Linked DNA regions of Homo sapiens: all the other regions are linked to region 1. The links are contacts of gene promoters, found by promoter capture Hi-C in human tissues and cell types (Jung and others, 2019). All regions are on one chromosome and are shown on one strand. Each heading gives the region's core, a stretch centred on a gene start or on the middle of the fragment in contact. The rest is flanking DNA. Distances are from core to core; before and after follow the strand shown.

Region 1 (2,700 bases), core at 29-2,528:
TTTGAGACCAGCCTGGCCAACACAGTGAAACCTCGTCTTTACTAAAAATACAAAAAATTAGCTGGGCGTGGTGGCGCACGCCTGTAGTCCCAGATACTCAGGAGGCTGAGGCAGAAGAATTGCTTGAACCTGGGAGGCGGAGGTTGCAGTGAGCTGAGATTGTTCCACCGTTCTCCAGCCTGGGTGACAGAGTGAGACTCTGTCTCAAAAAAAAAAAATCACATCCTAAGGTCCCAAGGACATAAAACAAGTTAGAGACCTCATCCAGTTTTTTGTTTGTTTCAGGGACCTGCAACCAACTTTCTTACTGACCAGTTTCCTGGGCTGTCTAGAACAGACAGCTTATGGGGTACTAACCCCATGCTCTATCCTAAGGTACCCCTCTTCATGCAGAGCGACACAGAAAAACAAATTTGTAGCACAAAGTACACCCGATTTGCTACAGCTTACGACTAGCCTCATGAATCCTTTTTCTCATTAATTCAAAGTTTGCAAAAAAAAGAAATCACATACTTAAAAATAAATCACTTGAGCACAGAAGCATATCAAAATCTAATATAAACAAACAAAAAACCCAACTTATGTTAACATGCCACTGAAACTGGGCTCAAGTTTTCAAATGTCTTATGAAATATTACACTCTCCAGCAGGCTATTTTTTTTTTCCTAACTGGAGATGAATGGCAGAGTTCTGATATGGAAAAGCACTCCATGTTTGTACAGAAAGGTAGCATAGGAAAAGTGGTCAAATTCAACCAGTCTGTCCTCATCAAACAGGCAACTACTGTCTTCTCAGCATTTCCAAAAGAAATCATATGTCTGCTACTGTTTATGTCATATGCCTGTTAATTTTTCATGCTAATTCTTAGTGTTTCTGGAAAACCTCACTGTTTGGCACCAAAAATTGTTATTGCTATTGTTGTTGTTTTGTTAATTATGTCAGCCAAGCAGATGACGGTGAATTAATTCTGCAACGTTGAGTACTCAGTTGGCATACAAGCACCCAGCCTTCCAAAGGGATGTCCTTCATGTTTCACTGATTTTCGAATGACAGTCGGCTTGCCTAAACTTATCCTTTACATTTAAGACATTTTGTGGGTTCCCGTCTGCCCAGGGGATTCTTATTACTTGTTTATGCAAACAGCAGGTTGCATAAGAGCCTTGCTGGCTTTTTTTTTTTTTTTTTTTTTTAGAGATTTCGTAGTTTCCTGGTAACCATTCAGTCATCTATTTCAACACCCTGACATGACATAAAGGCAGGCGTGGAACCACACGTTCACCACACAGACACACACCTCCTTGCTGGAGCATTCACTAGGCGAGGCGCTCCATCGGACTCACTAGCCGCACTCATGAATCGGCACCATCTGCAGGATCACTTTCTGGAAATAGACAAGAAGAACTGCTGTGTGTTCCGAGATGACTTCATTGTCAAGGTGTTGCCGCCGGTGTTGGGGCTGGAGTTTATCTTCGGGCTTCTGGGCAATGGCCTTGCCCTGTGGATTTTCTGTTTCCACCTCAAGTCCTGGAAATCCAGCCGGATTTTCCTGTTCAACCTGGCAGTGGCTGACTTTCTACTGATCATCTGCCTGCCCTTCCTGATGGACAACTATGTGAGGCGTTGGGACTGGAAGTTTGGGGACATCCCTTGCCGGCTGATGCTCTTCATGTTGGCTATGAACCGCCAGGGCAGCATCATCTTCCTCACGGTGGTGGCGGTAGACAGGTATTTCCGGGTGGTCCATCCCCACCACGCCCTGAACAAGATCTCCAATCGGACAGCAGCCATCATCTCTTGCCTTCTGTGGGGCATCACTATTGGCCTGACAGTCCACCTCCTGAAGAAGAAGATGCCGATCCAGAATGGCGGTGCAAATTTGTGCAGCAGCTTCAGCATCTGCCATACCTTCCAGTGGCACGAAGCCATGTTCCTCCTGGAGTTCTTCCTGCCCCTGGGCATCATCCTGTTCTGCTCAGCCAGAATTATCTGGAGCCTGCGGCAGAGACAAATGGACCGGCATGCCAAGATCAAGAGAGCCATCACCTTCATCATGGTGGTGGCCATCGTCTTTGTCATCTGCTTCCTTCCCAGCGTGGTTGTGCGGATCCGCATCTTCTGGCTCCTGCACACTTCGGGCACGCAGAATTGTGAAGTGTACCGCTCGGTGGACCTGGCGTTCTTTATCACTCTCAGCTTCACCTACATGAACAGCATGCTGGACCCCGTGGTGTACTACTTCTCCAGCCCATCCTTTCCCAACTTCTTCTCCACTTTGATCAACCGCTGCCTCCAGAGGAAGATGACAGGTGAGCCAGATAATAACCGCAGCACGAGCGTCGAGCTCACAGGGGACCCCAACAAAACCAGAGGCGCTCCAGAGGCGTTAATGGCCAACTCCGGTGAGCCATGGAGCCCCTCTTATCTGGGCCCAACCTCTCCTTAAATAACCATGCCAAGAAGGGACATTGTCACCAAGAACCAGGATCTCTGGAGAAACAGTTGGGCTGTTGCATCGAGTAATGTCACTGGACTCGGCCTAAGGTTTCCTGGAACTTCCAGATTCAGAGAATGCGATTTAGGGAAACGGTGGCAGATGAGTGGGAGACTGGTTGCAAGGTGTGACCGCAGGAATCCTGGAGGAATAGAGAGTAAAGCTTCTAGGCATCTGAAACTTTTGCTTCATCTCTGACGCTCGCAGGA
Region 2 (2,700 bases), core at 167-2,666, 79 kb before region 1:
AAAATAAAAATCTATACTATTATGAATAAAGACTCATTATATTACCAAGACGTATATGAAATATCACTAAGAAATAAAAGAATGGGGCCAGGCGCGGTGGCTCACACCTGTAATCCCAGCACTTTGGGAGGCCGAGGCGGGCAGATCACGAGGTCAGGAGATCGAAACCATCCTGGCTAACACGGTGAAACCCCGTCTCTACTAAAATACAAAAAATTAGCCGGGCGTGGTGGCGGGCGCCTGTAGTCCCAGCTACTAGGGAGGCTGAGGCAGGAGAATAGTGTGAACCCGGGAGGCGGAGCTTGCAGTGAGCCGAGGTGGCACCACTGCACTCCAGCCTGGGCGACAGAACGAGACTCCGTCTCAGGAAAAAAAAAAAAAAAGAATGAAGGATATAACAAATAAACAAGCTGGCTTTCTGCACCTCTTATAAGCATGAACTCAAAAAATATCTGATGACTGACCAGTTAGAAGAGAAAACCAAAAAAATCCATCTTTTTTTTTGACAAGGAGTCTCGCTCTTTCCCCCAGGCTGGAGTGCAGTGGTGCGATCTCGGCTCACTGCAACCTCTGCCTCTCAGGTTCAATTGACTCTCCTACCTCAGCCTCCTGAGTAGTTGGGACTACAGGTGCCCACCACCACACCTGGTTAATTTTTGAATTTTTAGTAGAGACGGGGTTTCACCATGTTGGCCAGGCTGATCTCAGACTTTGGACCTCAAGTCACCGCCCACCTCGGCCTCCCAAAGTGCTGGGATTATAGGTGTGAGCCACCATGCCGGGCTCAAAAAACCAGTCTTACAGTTTTTATTCCCAATATGCCACTAACATTATGAGATAAGACACAATAATTGGCTGGGCACAGTGGCTCACACCTGTAATCCCAGCACTTTGGGAGGCTGAGGCGGGCGGATCACCTGAGGTCGGGCGTTGGAGACCAGCCTGGCCAACATGGAGAAACTCCGTCTCTACTAAAAATACAAAATTAGCTGGGCATAGTGGTGCATGCCTGTAATCCCAGCTACTCGGGGGAGTGAGGCAAGAGAATTGTTTGAACCCAGGAGGCAGAGGTTATGGTGAGCCGAGATCGTGCCATTGCACTTCAGCCTGGGCAACAAGAGTGAAACTCCATCTCAAAAAAAACACACAATAATTTAGAAAACATCATTGAGGCTACCAAAACTTGATTATACCCTCTCATCTTTGAGGAAAGCTTTCTAAAATAACTCATTGTTGATTAAATGGTAGATGCTACTAAACCAAATGGCATAACGGTTAAAAAGCGTTGTACTGAAGCTCAATCTCTAAGACAGGATAATGCCGTGCAGCTAACCAAAACTGTAGGAGAAACACAAAACTACAAGGGGTGGATGAGTGTAGATACCTTCGTACACACACGTATGCATTTTTGCATTGGTTGCTTGCTGTTGTTGTTTTTTGTTGAGATGAGGTCTCACTATGTTGCCCAGGCTGGACTTGGACTCCTGGGCCCAAGCAATGTTTCTGCCTCAGCCTCCCCAGAGGCTGGGACTACAGGCGTACACCACTGTGCTTGGCTTACATACGCTTTTTTTTTTTTTTTTTTGTCACCCAGGCTGGGGTGTAGTGGCACAATCACAGCTTACTGCAGCCTTGACCTCCTGGGCTCAAGTGATCCTCCTGCCTCAGCCTCCCAAGTAGCTGGGACCACAGCAGTGCACCCCCACACCCAGCTCATTTTTGTATTTCTTCTTTTTATAGAGACAGGCATTTGCCATGTTGCCAAGCCTGGTCGTGAATTCCTGGGCTCAAGCAATCCTCCCACCTCAGCCTCCCAAACAAAGAGCTGGGATAACAGGCATGAGCCACCAAGCCACTGTGCCCAGCCTCACATGCATTTTTAATGAAACATTTAAATCTAATTTTTCTTTTTTCTTTTTTTTTTTGAGACAGAGTTTCGCTCTTGTTGCCCGGACTGGAGTGCAATGGCGCGATCTTGGCTCACCGCAACCTCCACCTCCCGGGTTCAAACGATTCTCCTGCCTCAGCCTCCTGAGTAGCTGGGACTACAGGCGTGTGCCACCACGCCCGGCTAATTTTGTATTTTTAGTAGAGATGGGGTTTCTCCACGCTGGCCAGGCTGGTCTCGAACTCCTGACCTCAGGTGATCCACCTGCCTCGGCCTCCCAAAGTGTTGGCATTACAGGAGTGAGCCACCGTGCCCGGTCAAATCTAATTTTTCAATAACTGAAACACAAAGGGAATTTGGACTAGTGAAGCTTATCAAAAACTAATCCCAACCTCAAGGTCTTCAGAGAGAAGAGAAGAATGCGTTGCCTTTTGAGCCATTTCCTGAAGCTGTAGTTGGGTCTTTTGGAGAGCTGTTTGGCATTCCATTTGATTGGATTCAAGAGCTTTTACCTTCTTCGTGAGTGACCTGATTATTTCAGTTCTTTTATGTAGTTCACCTGAGGGAAGTTCATCAATAATTTGTAGTCACACCTTCAGCTTAAAAGGCATTATTTTCAAAATGGGTGGTTAAAAGGTAAAAATGTGGTAGAGAATTTTTAAAAAGACAATCTTCTTTTAAAACCTTTTATTATGAAATGCACAATATCACACCTAATCAAGAAACAGAACTGTGAGCAATTGGAAGCCTCTGGAGGTCACTTCCCGAACATAATCACTCCAGTTTCCGCGTTCCCAACCATGACCCTGATC
Region 3 (2,700 bases), core at 197-2,696, 79 kb after region 1:
ACTGCAACCTCCGTATCCCGGGCTCAAGCAATTCTCCTGCCTCAGCCTCCCGAGTAGCTGGGATTACAGGCGTGTGCCACCACGCCTGGCTAATTTTTGTATTTTTAGTAGAGACGGGGTTTCACCATGTTGGCCAGGCTGGTCTTGAACTCCTGGCCTCAGGTAATCTGCCCCTTGGCCTCCCAAAGTGCTGGGATTACAGGTGTGAGCCACCGTGCCCAGCCATACTTCTTTTTTTTCTGCAGTGAATATACGTTTTAGGTAATTAAAGAATAATAATTAATTTAAAAAGCAATTAATACCCAAGCATGACAATAATCAACACCTTTTAGAATTCAGTTTTTCACCTGCTTCAATATTAAAAACACCACCTTATGAGGAATGGTAATGCTGGAAAGCACCTGAGAGACCATGGGGTCCAGATCTGAAGACTAAGCCCACATTAGGCTTTGCTGCCCAGTGGCAGGGCTGAGATTAGAACTGTGGTCTCTTGATTTCTAGTTTAGAACTCTCTAACACAAAAAGTAAAATATAAAAATTACAGTTACACATAAAAATACATTTATCTCCAGAACACTAGAAAAGGCTTGTCAATTTTAAGGCCCTAGGAATATAAACAATGTCAAGTTAGAACCTAAGAACTTTCCATCAGCTTTACCTTCAGAATTTCACAGGGAGCAGTGTCTGGAGGCACAGGTTTCCCGCAGTGCTTTGAATATTCAGTTATCAAGACTGAAGCTTCATCTAAACTACAAAATCAAAAAGAAAAAGAAGTGTTAGGCCAAGCACAGTGCCTTGTGCCTACAATCCCGGCACTCAGGGAGGCCAAGATGTACAGATGGCTTGGGTCCAGGAGTTTGAGACTAGCCTGGGCAACATGGCAAAGCCCTGTCTCTACAAAAAATATAAAATTAGCCAGGTGTGGTGTTGCACACTTGTAGTCCCAGCTACTCTGGAGACTGAGGTAGGAGGATCGCTTGAACCCAGGAGGTTGGGGCAGCAGTGAGCCACGTTTGTACCACTGCACTCCAGCCTGGGTGACAAAGCAAGACCCTATTTCAAAAAGAAAAGAAAAGAAAAGAAAAAGAGGCATTGAAGTCAAAATTAAAATGTAAAGACCAATCTCTGAATTTAATGTTTTATTTGGGAAGAAATAATTCCAATTTGGGGCATATACATAGACTGGGTAGTCTCTGGATTGTCCAAAGAACAAAGAGAAGGTTAGAGGTTTTATGAAAAAGAGACATGTTACACATTGTTCTTTTTTTTCTTTTTTGTGAGACAGAGTTTCACTCTTGTTGCACAGGCTGGAGTGCAATGGTGCGATCTCGGCTCACTGCAACCTCCACCTCCTGGGTTCAAGCGATTCTCCTGCCTTAGCCTCCCGAGTAGCTGGGATTACAGGCATGCGCCACCATGCTCGGCTAACTTTTTGTATTTTTAGTAGAGACAGGGTTTCATCATGTTGGCCAGGCTGGTCTTGAACTCCTAACCTCAGGTGATCCACCCGCCTCGGCCTCCCAAAGTGCTGGGATTACAGGAGTAAGCCACTGCGCCCGGCCAGAATTATGTTTTTGGAGCAATGTTTTGTACTCTGAGTGCTTTTCCCCTGGGCCCCTCGACTCTGATGAATTTGGGTATCACAAGAATGACCTAATTCATGTAATCAACTTCACAGAGGGCATGAGGAAACTTTCAGAGAATTATGTTCACTCTCTTGATTGTGGTGATGGCTTTATAGGTATACATATGTCAAAATTTACTAAATTGCAGACTTCAAGTATGTCCAGCTTATTATATGTATCAATTATAACTCAAAAAATACTTGCTCAAAAATGACAATATCTAATTATGGCTGGATCACAAGAGATAAACAAGCAGATGGAAATCCATGGAGTGGTAATGAGAAAGAAAGACCTCTCAAGCGCCAACATGGCTAGACCACATGCAGGGATGGATCTGGTGTGTACTGCGGTCTTGAACTTCCCTTTCTTTAGTGTCAGCCCACTTCTTCCTTCTCCCGTTCAGTTTCCATATCCACCCCCAGCTCTATCCCAAGAAGCTTATTGTTTCTAAACTTGTGGGTGCTGGAAAATTAGATAACCAGGTTTAACAAAAGTGATGCTACATAAAGTCATTAATGTTCTGAGCAAGTGTCTAGACATAAAATTGTAATGTAGGATTTAGAACAGGGCTGTGAGACACTTGATTTGGGGGTTCAGATGACCTGTTTAATTGTCAGATTCTAAGGTCATATTCCAAGAAATTGGGTTATTAAATGATTAACTTTTGGATATGTGCAGTAATGAGAGATGTAATATTTTGAGCTTTTAATTACAACCAAATAGCTCTACAGTTGACATTCTGCTCCAACATAAAGATAGATTTTTTTTTTTTTGAGACAGAGTTTCGCTCCTGTTGCCCAGGCTGGAGTGCAATGGTGCGATCTCGGCTCACTGCAACCTCTGCCTCCCGGGTTGAAGAGATTCTCCTGCCTTATCCTCCCTAGTAGCTGGGATTACAGGTATGTGCCACCATGCCCGGCTAATTTTGTATTTTTAGTAGAGACAGGGTTTCTCCATGTTGGTCAGGCTGGTTTTGAACTCTCAACCTCAGGTGATCCACCCACCTCAGCTTCCCAAAGTGCTAGGATTACAGTCGTGAGCCATCGTGCCCAGCTTATAAAGATAGATTTTAAGG

The links. Contacts are between HindIII fragments. The study calls those that stand out against the background at their distance.
Region 2: a contact is called between a fragment that was not itself captured here and the fragment with the promoter of HCAR2 in region 1, in 3 of the 25 tissues and cell types used here (H1 embryonic stem cells, mesenchymal stem cells and mesendoderm cells).
Region 3: a fragment that was not itself captured here is called in contact with the fragment with the promoter of HCAR2 in region 1 in 4 of the 25 tissues and cell types used here (IMR-90 fibroblasts, heart left ventricle, lymphoblastoid cells and 1 more).

What each region holds. Positions count from the first base shown.
Region 1 is chr12:122,701,935-122,704,634 of GRCh38, reverse strand. It overlaps HCAR2 (hydroxycarboxylic acid receptor 2), which reads left to right and starts at 1,278. Exons shown (of 1, transcript NM_177551.4): 1 at 1,278-2,700. The coding sequence starts at 1,352. The coding sequence ends at 2,443. The HindIII fragment of the contact is 9,565 bases long and covers 1-2,700 here.
Region 2 is chr12:122,780,911-122,783,610 of GRCh38, reverse strand. CCDC62 (coiled-coil domain containing 62) reads right to left here. Exons shown (of 13, transcript NM_201435.5): 3 at 2,281-2,447. Among named protein-coding and RNA genes, the nearest start is that of CCDC62, 7.7 kb to the right of the region's middle. The HindIII fragment of the contact is 3,682 bases long and covers 1-2,700 here.
Region 3 is chr12:122,622,647-122,625,346 of GRCh38, reverse strand. KNTC1 (kinetochore associated 1) reads right to left here. Exons shown (of 64, transcript NM_014708.6): 63 at 659-749. Among named protein-coding and RNA genes, the nearest start is that of MIR9902-1, 72 kb to the left of the region's middle. The HindIII fragment of the contact is 3,781 bases long and covers 1-2,700 here.